Linked DNA regions of Homo sapiens: region 1 is linked to region 2. Evidence: promoter capture Hi-C in 16 types of primary human blood cells and fetal thymus (Javierre and others, 2016). All regions are on one chromosome and are shown on one strand. Each heading gives the region's core, a stretch centred on a gene start or on the middle of the fragment in contact. The rest is flanking DNA. Distances are from core to core; before and after follow the strand shown. Region 1 overlaps LINC00523 (long intergenic non-protein coding RNA 523). Region 2 holds the start of RTL1 (retrotransposon Gag like 1).

The links. Contacts are between HindIII fragments. The CHiCAGO score rates a contact against its expected background, and 5 or more counts as called.
Region 1: a fragment that was not itself captured here is called in contact with the fragment with the promoter of RTL1 in region 2 in 1 of 17 cell types (megakaryocytes); the score reaches 7.0 in megakaryocytes.

The regions. Positions count from the first base shown.
Region 1 is chr14:100,660,899-100,664,495 of GRCh38, forward strand. All of the region lies in intron 1 of LINC00523 (long intergenic non-protein coding RNA 523), which reads left to right. Among named protein-coding and RNA genes, the nearest start is that of LINC00523, 5.4 kb to the left of the region's middle. RefSeq lists an enhancer at 1-823. The HindIII fragment of the contact is 267 bases long and covers 1,847-2,113 here.
Region 2 is chr14:100,902,291-100,906,258 of GRCh38, forward strand. RTL1 (retrotransposon Gag like 1) reads right to left here and starts at 1,432. Exons shown (of 4, transcript NM_001134888.3): 1 at 1,315-1,432; 2 at 1,001-1,096. It overlaps MEG8 (maternally expressed 8, small nucleolar RNA host gene), which reads left to right. Exons shown (of 51, transcript NR_146000.1): 6 at 3,808-3,873. The HindIII fragment of the contact is 7,837 bases long and covers 1-3,674 here.

The DNA of each region.
Region 1 (3,597 bases), core at 730-3,229, 240 kb before region 2:
CGGCCTGGCATGTAGTAAGTGATCAATTAATGGTGGCATGAGTCACTGTTACTCATATTATTATTCATATCGCAGTGCCCTTCGGCTTCTTCAAGAATGTATACTGAGCTGGCCTCACTCCAGAGTTGTTTACTTGTGCTTGTCTTCACAAGGTAATTGAGAAGAGGCCAAAGAGAGCAAGGGCCAGCCCTCCGGCCGCCTGCTTCCCAGGCCGGACTGTTTCCTTCTCCAGGGCCACCTCTGCAAACTCTTCAAAAGAAGCAAGGTCATACTCCCTAGTCTAAGCAAAGGAGGAAACCAAAGGCAGCTTTGATATGTCAGCTTAGGGAACAAGCTGACGGCACGGATCACAAGCGCTGGGTTCTGCCTGAGCAAATGGCTCTAAATGACGTACTTCAGGCTCTCCTCTTAATGTGCTGGGTGTTTATGATTTTTTAAGAAGTGCCTCATCAAAAAAAATGCAATAATGATGCTCCTAACTTAACAGCAGCACTTTAGAAGAGATGAATTATTCACATCAGAGATGAAACAGGGACTCTACAAACTGGGCCAGCTGAAGCAGTCCCTTTCCCGGGAACTATTTTTATCTTTTTTTTACAGTCTTTCATCTTGGGAGACACGCGGTTCGCAATGTACGGGGAGCCCATTGCTTGGAGCCCAAGCTGGCAGGATGTCAAACCTGAAGTACTAGGCGTCTTGGAGCTTCTGCCTGGAGTACGAAATCCGAGGAAACTGAAGTGTGGAAAACGGGGCAGTAGCAATGTGAATGAGGATGATTGAGGGGTGCTGGGGACTCCCTGTTTCTTAACCTTGGAGGGCTCTCAGAGGCATGCTTCTCCATCGTCGACCCAGGGCACCATGGAGCTATCTTGCCCTTTCTTTTCCTGACATCCAATGATTCCCCACCTAATAGTGCATGGAGCTCTTGGGAAAGAGTGTATAGATTCTATATGGTGTGCATGGAGCAGCTGGCCCTGAGGAAGGAAGGGATTTCATTATTGCAAGGCTCAGGGGCAAGTGTGGACTAGCAGGGTCCCAAACTCTACAGGCCTTGACAGTCCAACATTGTCACACTCAACACTCGCCCATTTGCTTTAAAAAGCACCCTAGACCTGCACTCTCTGATATAGCAGCCATGAGCCACATGGGTACTGAACACTTGAAATGCAGTTTGACCAAATCGAAAGGTGCTGTGAGTGCAAGCAGCATACGGGACTTCAGAGACTTAGTACAAAAGGAGAATGTAAACGATCTCGTGAAGATTTCTACATCGATTACACATTGAGATGATAATATTTTGAATACATTGGGTTAAATAAAATATATTGTTAAAATTAATTTCACCTGGTTAAGAGCCAGGTGAAATTTACTTTTCAAAACATGTTGCTAGAAATTGTGAAATTACTTATGTGGCTCACTTTACATTTTTTTTTTTTTTTTTTTGCCCAGGCTGAATGGAGTGCAGTGGCGTGATCTCGGCTCACTGCAACCTCCGCCTCCAAGGTTCAAGCGATTCTTCTGCCTCAGCCTCCTGAGTCGCTGGGATTCTAGGCACATGCCACCACACCCGGCTAATTTTTGTATTTTTGGTAGAGACAGGGTTTCGCCATGTTGGCCAGGCTGGTCTCGAACTCTTGACCTCAGGTGATCTTCCCACCTCGGCCTCCCAAAGCGCTGGGATTACAGGTGTGAGCCACTGCACCCGGCCTCACTTTACATTTTTATTGGACAGCACTGCTCTAGAAAGGGAGCTAGGAAGATAGTAAGTAGTGGCTGACTCTTGGTGGTGGAATTACAAAAGCCTTTCCCCCCTCCTTTTTTAAAAATAATTTTTCTGTGTTTTTTAAGCTTTGCAGAAATGCCACAACTAGCCATTCTTGCTTTATATCTGCAAAGGCACATCTATTATTATTTTTAATGACTCTCAGAGCTTGTTGGGAAATGGGACTGAGTTAAGCAGCTTCCTGGAAGGATCAGTGTCAGCAACCATGCTGTGGGGAGAGTCAGGGAACAGCAAGAGTGTCGGGGGCTTTGAGGACTCCAGAGATTTGAACTGGGCTCAGGGTTCAAGAGCTCAGGTAGGAACCAGAACCCCAGTGAGGGGTGATGGGGAAGCTTATTAGTGAGACACAGGAAGTGGCTCCAGTGATGGCTTCATGGCTTTGGCCTGGTGGGGCCTCTTCCGGTGTACACAGCAGGAAGCTGTGCTCTTCCTGATGGACGTCAGCTCCTATCTCTCCTGGGGAGTGGAGGCTGCTCTGGAGTGGGGCCAAGATCGGGAGGCCCAGGAGAGAAAAGGGCCTGCAATCTACCTCCCAGTCAACAAGATGCTATAATAAAAACATAGCCAACTGTCACTCAGCGTTTATTACGGTGCCAGGTGCTGCTTCACATACTTTCCATATTTTAACTCATCTATTCCTGAATTGCAATCTATGAGATAGGAACTATTATTGTCCCCATTTCACAGATGAGGAAACAGGTGCAGAACCGTGGAGTAACCTGCGCAGGGTCTCCAGTAGAAAAACAGGCCCTTGGTCAGATGAATTTACCCACTTCGGCCACCAGGGGCGCTGTTGGCACAGCTTGAACTCGAGACCAGCGCTGTCCAACGGAAACCGAACGTAAGCCACATTTCTAAAAAGTACACAAGAAAAGTGAAATTAGTGTTATATTTTCTTTAACTCGGTATATCCAAAATAGTATCATCTTGGCATGTAATCAACACGACATTTATTAGATACTTTACTTTTTTTTTGTTAGACTGTGTCTCGAAATCCAACATGCTGTTTGTACTTAAATGCACTTTAGATGTGAGTTCCATTTTAGGCACCCCGTAACGATATGTGGCTCGTGGCTGCTGCATTGAACAGTTCAGCCACTAAAATCAAAGAACTAGCCCAGGATGGCGAATTGGTCCATCCAGTCTACCAACCCTGATTGTTGGTGTTGGTGCTTGGAGGCATGCTGTGATTGATTAGCAATGTCTGCTGTGAACGTGGAAGGGGCACTGTGGGAGGGTCTGTGTCTCCTGTATACTGACTGATCATGAGCCATGCCAGCACAGTGAAAAGAGACCTCTGTATTCCTGTGGGTGGTCGTGCACCAAGGGTTGTGGTGACCTCCCCCTCCTCTGCCCTCCTGTGGTTTTTACTGTGTGCGGTGGGCCAGGCTCCAGGTATACTGATCCTGGGTCCTGTGTTCACATTCCTGTGCCTCTGTTTTCTGGCTGTGACTCCAGATGAGCCACTATACTTCTGCGAGCCTCAGCTTCCATATCTGAAAAATAGGCGTAATAACCACTACTTAGCAGGACTGCTACATATATGAAGAATTGGCATTCAATAGACATAGAGTAAGTGGTGGCTCCCCATTCTTCCTCCTGCTTCCCCCCCACTCTCCTCAAGACAGACTCAAAGTCTGTCCTCACCCAAAACCCTCTCGGGAGGCAGACAGCTCCTTACTGCGCCTTCTTGGCGATCTCTCTGCCCCATCCAAGGCTGAGTGAGGCCTCCTGCTTGCTGGCTTCCTGCAGTGCCCCTCTGCCGGCCCCTTCTGTCAAGGCCAAGGACCGACTCAGCCCTCAGCAAGCTAGCA
Region 2 (3,968 bases), core at 182-2,681:
GTGCTGAATGGCAATACCCCCACCAATGGTGGGAACAGGATTGGGCGCCTCTACACCTGTCCTAACACCTCTGTCTCTGTTCTTTTAGACCTGGGACAGAGCCCTTTGCCCTGCTGTTCTGCTAAAAGCCCAGGGGAGGGCGTGGTGCTCCCCTCCTGGGGCCAGCTGCTCCATGTCTATCTGTTGAGCGGCTTCTCAGCCCTCTTGGGTTTTCTATGGCCCCTTTTCCAGTTGCTAGGGAGAACGCTCTGTATGCAGCCCCCTGCCTTTTCTGCAGGAGCTGCTGGCCTCCCGGCCAGCCCTGGTCAGCCCTGCAGTAGCAGCAGCAGCAGCAGCAGCAGCAGTAGGCAGCCACAGCAGGGCTGGGGGCTCCCGAGCCAGGCAGACCGGCTTGACTCCCTGCTCTCTAGCTGCAAGACAATTCCCTTTACTTTTCAGACTCGGCTTTTCCCCTGTGAAATGGAGATGAGAGTTTCTCCGTCACTGGCGTGAAGTGAGGACTAAATGAGATAAGTGTAGGCTTGCACACATCAGACACTTCATAAATGCTTGTGGAGTAGACGGTGGGACCCAGGGAGGGAGAGAGAGGTATGTAACAAGTGTCGCAAGAGAGAAAACAGCCTGGCCTTTCAAGACCCTGCTCCCAATACAAACGGGAACCTCTCCTGGCAGAGTCCCCTCTGCTGGCTTAATCGCACAAATCAAGTCAGCCGGAGGCAGCCCCCGGCCTGTGGAACTCACAGTAGATGCAGCAGGCAGCATAAATGACATGCAGAGCCCACATCTGCATTTAATAGACCGAGAATTTGCATTGTATATAACAGCACGAGGGGTAAAGCATGAAGGCATAAAGGAACAGTTTTTCCCGGCGGCTTCCTTGAAGGGCCAGCTTAGACAGGGGTCTGGGGAGGAGAAACTCAGCGGGGTCCGGGCATCCCATAGACTATGGGACAGACATCCATCCATGCACTCATTCTCCAAGCCACCACAGTGTACCTACCTTCCCCGGGCCCAGTCCCAAGCGTGAGGCTGGGGATGAAGTGATGCCGGTGGCTTAGTGATGCCGGTGGCTTCCTGTCCTCGAAGCTCAGTCGGTCTGGTGGGGGAAACAAACAGGGAATAAGACACTGGAAATTGAGGTGATCAAGAGGGGGTGCAGGCATGGAGATTTATGGAGCCCCGTCTTGGAGCCAAGTCCCGAACTGGGCTGTCTGCAAAGAACTCACCCGGGCAATAACCCTGCACACTGGTCTCATGAGCCCCATTAGATTGATGAGGAAACTGAGGCACAGAAAGGCAAAGTCCTATACTCACCGTCTCTCAGCTGGTGTGAGGCTGGGCCAGGATGGAACCCCAGACTCTCCGAGGCTCCCCACCACACCCTGCTGCTGAAGGCTGCTCAGCGAGGCTGTGCCGAGTGCTGGGGGGGTGTGGGTGGGCAGGGGACGGATTGATTAGTTATAAGCACCTCCCAGCGGTGCTTGAGATCCCAGCTCCTCTGTGGCCCAATCCGTTTGAAGGGCAGATTCAAAATTAGGTGGTAGCACCTATGGGCAGAGGCTTATGAAAATGGCATTATTAACCTGATGTGGAGAGGGCCCTGCCTGTCTGCAAGTAGATTGCAGATAGAGACGGAGGGGGCTGGGCTTGTTTGTGTGGACAGTGAGTTAGAGAGGACAGAGAACATCCAGGGGCCCTCCAGGGCTTCCGGACGGGGAGAACCAGATCTGGAGGGGCTGGACAAGTGGGAGGGGGAAGAGGGGTACGTCTTAAGGGTGCCCCGGCACCTCAGGGAAATGCCCCAGGCTGGACTTGGAGGAGGATCTCCAGCCTTGACTCTGACACAGACAGGGACTATGGCCCTCCCCGCACCTCGGTTTCCCATCTGTGAGATAAGAGATGGAAACCAAACGTCATTTCGAGAAAAGCCCCCATTCCCACCACCCTCCTGGCCCCCCCCTTCCCCCACCACCCCAATCACGTTTGCCAGACACCTGTCTGCTTGTCAGAGCAATATTCAACAGGAGAGTTCCTTCGCTTCCTCCCTGGAGGGAGAAGGGAGAGGTGTGGACGGGGAGAGGGGAGGGGAGAGGTGCCCCCCACTCAGAGAGGCCGCTGAGCAGAGTTCTGCATCGGGTAGGAGTTGGGCCACCGAAGATTTGTGCCAACTCACGGTGCGGTGGAATCAGACAGTCTGAATTCTTCAGACACCAGCCAAGAGTCTGTGGCGCCCCCACGTGCCACAAGGGGGCTGCCTGGGCCACATTTCTGAGCCCGAAAAGTGAGGAGGGGGACAGTCAAGAGGGACCGGCGCTTTTGCTCTGGCAGCGGCGCTTTTAACTGCGACAGATGCGTGCGGTGCGGCGGGGGAGCCGGCCGTGCCGGGGCTGGGGGCTGCTGGGCGGGGGTGGTCGGGGCGGGGGGCGGGGGCTGCAGGTTGCGCCCCTCCCTCACAGACGGCTGCGCTGCAATGCAGCAGGCTGCGGGAGCTGTCCCGGGAGCTGTCCTGTCCGGTGGCCGGCTTTCCAAAGTGGGGAACGAGAGATGAGGGAGGGAGCACTTCCAGGCGCTGCGTGGTGGCCAGGCGCCCAGGAAGCCGAGGGGCCCGAGACTCTGCAGCGGGGCCAGAAAGAGAAGAGTGGGGGAGGAGGCCGGGAGTGGTGCATGGACCAGGGGGTAGAGGGAGGTGGGTGTGGACCTGGGGTCGGGCGCCAGTCAGCTTGCAGCCTATGAAGGACGGAAAGGAGGGCTACAGAGATAGGGGAAGAGTGGGGCTGAGGATAGCCAGAGCGGCTTGGCACACAGTTTTAGGGTAAAAGCATCAACTCTTATCTTTCCAAAAGAAATAAAAAAGCCAAAAAAAAAAAAAAAGGCATTTGAAAGCTAGACAGCTGAATCCTTCCCAGCATGACTGAGCCGGTCACTCCAGGGTCTTCCTTCAAAGCGTGTCTAATGGGAGACAGCGTTGTCCCAGTAACCAAATTGGGACCAGAGTCCCAGGGAAGGGCTCATCAGGTGGCCGCTCTGCCTTGAAGAGTGGTACCCTCAGGCCCTTTTCCAGCCAGGGGTCAGGGAGAGAGCTGGAGGGCTCGGGGAGGCAGGGACTGGGAGGGAGAGTGGGGAGAGGAGCGCTGGGGGCTGCAGGAGGGTCTCTGGGCAGCTGGCGGGTGTCTCGTTCCGCAACACTCTGCACCCTGGTACATCGTCCTCCGTCCACTCAACGTGGAATGATTCTCTTCCCTCTGGATCCAGCCCCTCTAGTTCCCTTTTCACTTTGAGGCATTTGCCCCCTGTGAATCAGTTCCCTGCTACTCCAGAAAATTTCTCTCATACCCCAGGCCCCTCTGTTCTTTTAAATGGCACCCTTCACCCCCAGCCCTTCATCTTCTGCACTGTATTTTCACTTGTTGATTTAAAAATCCCTTTATTATGGGAAATTGCAAACAACACAAAAGTAGAGAAAATAGTACGTATTTTTACTGTTTACTCAATTTTCATCTTGCCATTACCCGGACACGGTTGCCGTCAAACCCTGGCCCCTCTTGTTTCATCTAAACCCTAAACTGTCCCTCTACTCCCACTGCCCAACCCCTACCCCTGGACTATTTCGAAGCAAATTTCAGACACCATCCTGTTTCCTCTGAGCATTTTTTAGTTTGTATCTCTAAATAAGAAGCTTTTGTTTCTTAAAAATAAAACCACAACACCATTATCACAAGTTAAAAAATTAATAGCCTTTCCTTAATATCATCCACCATCTATGTAGCATTCCAATATTCTTGATTGACTCATAAATTTCTTTTACAGTTGGCTTGGTCAAGTCAGTGTTCAAACTATCTCCTGCTCTTTCAAGGGGATCTGGGGCTCTAGAAGGTAAGTATGGCTACACATTTAGGGGTTGAATATCTGCCTGGACCTTAAATGAGAAACTCAACCTCAGCAAACCTCAGTGTTCTCACTGAAAATGG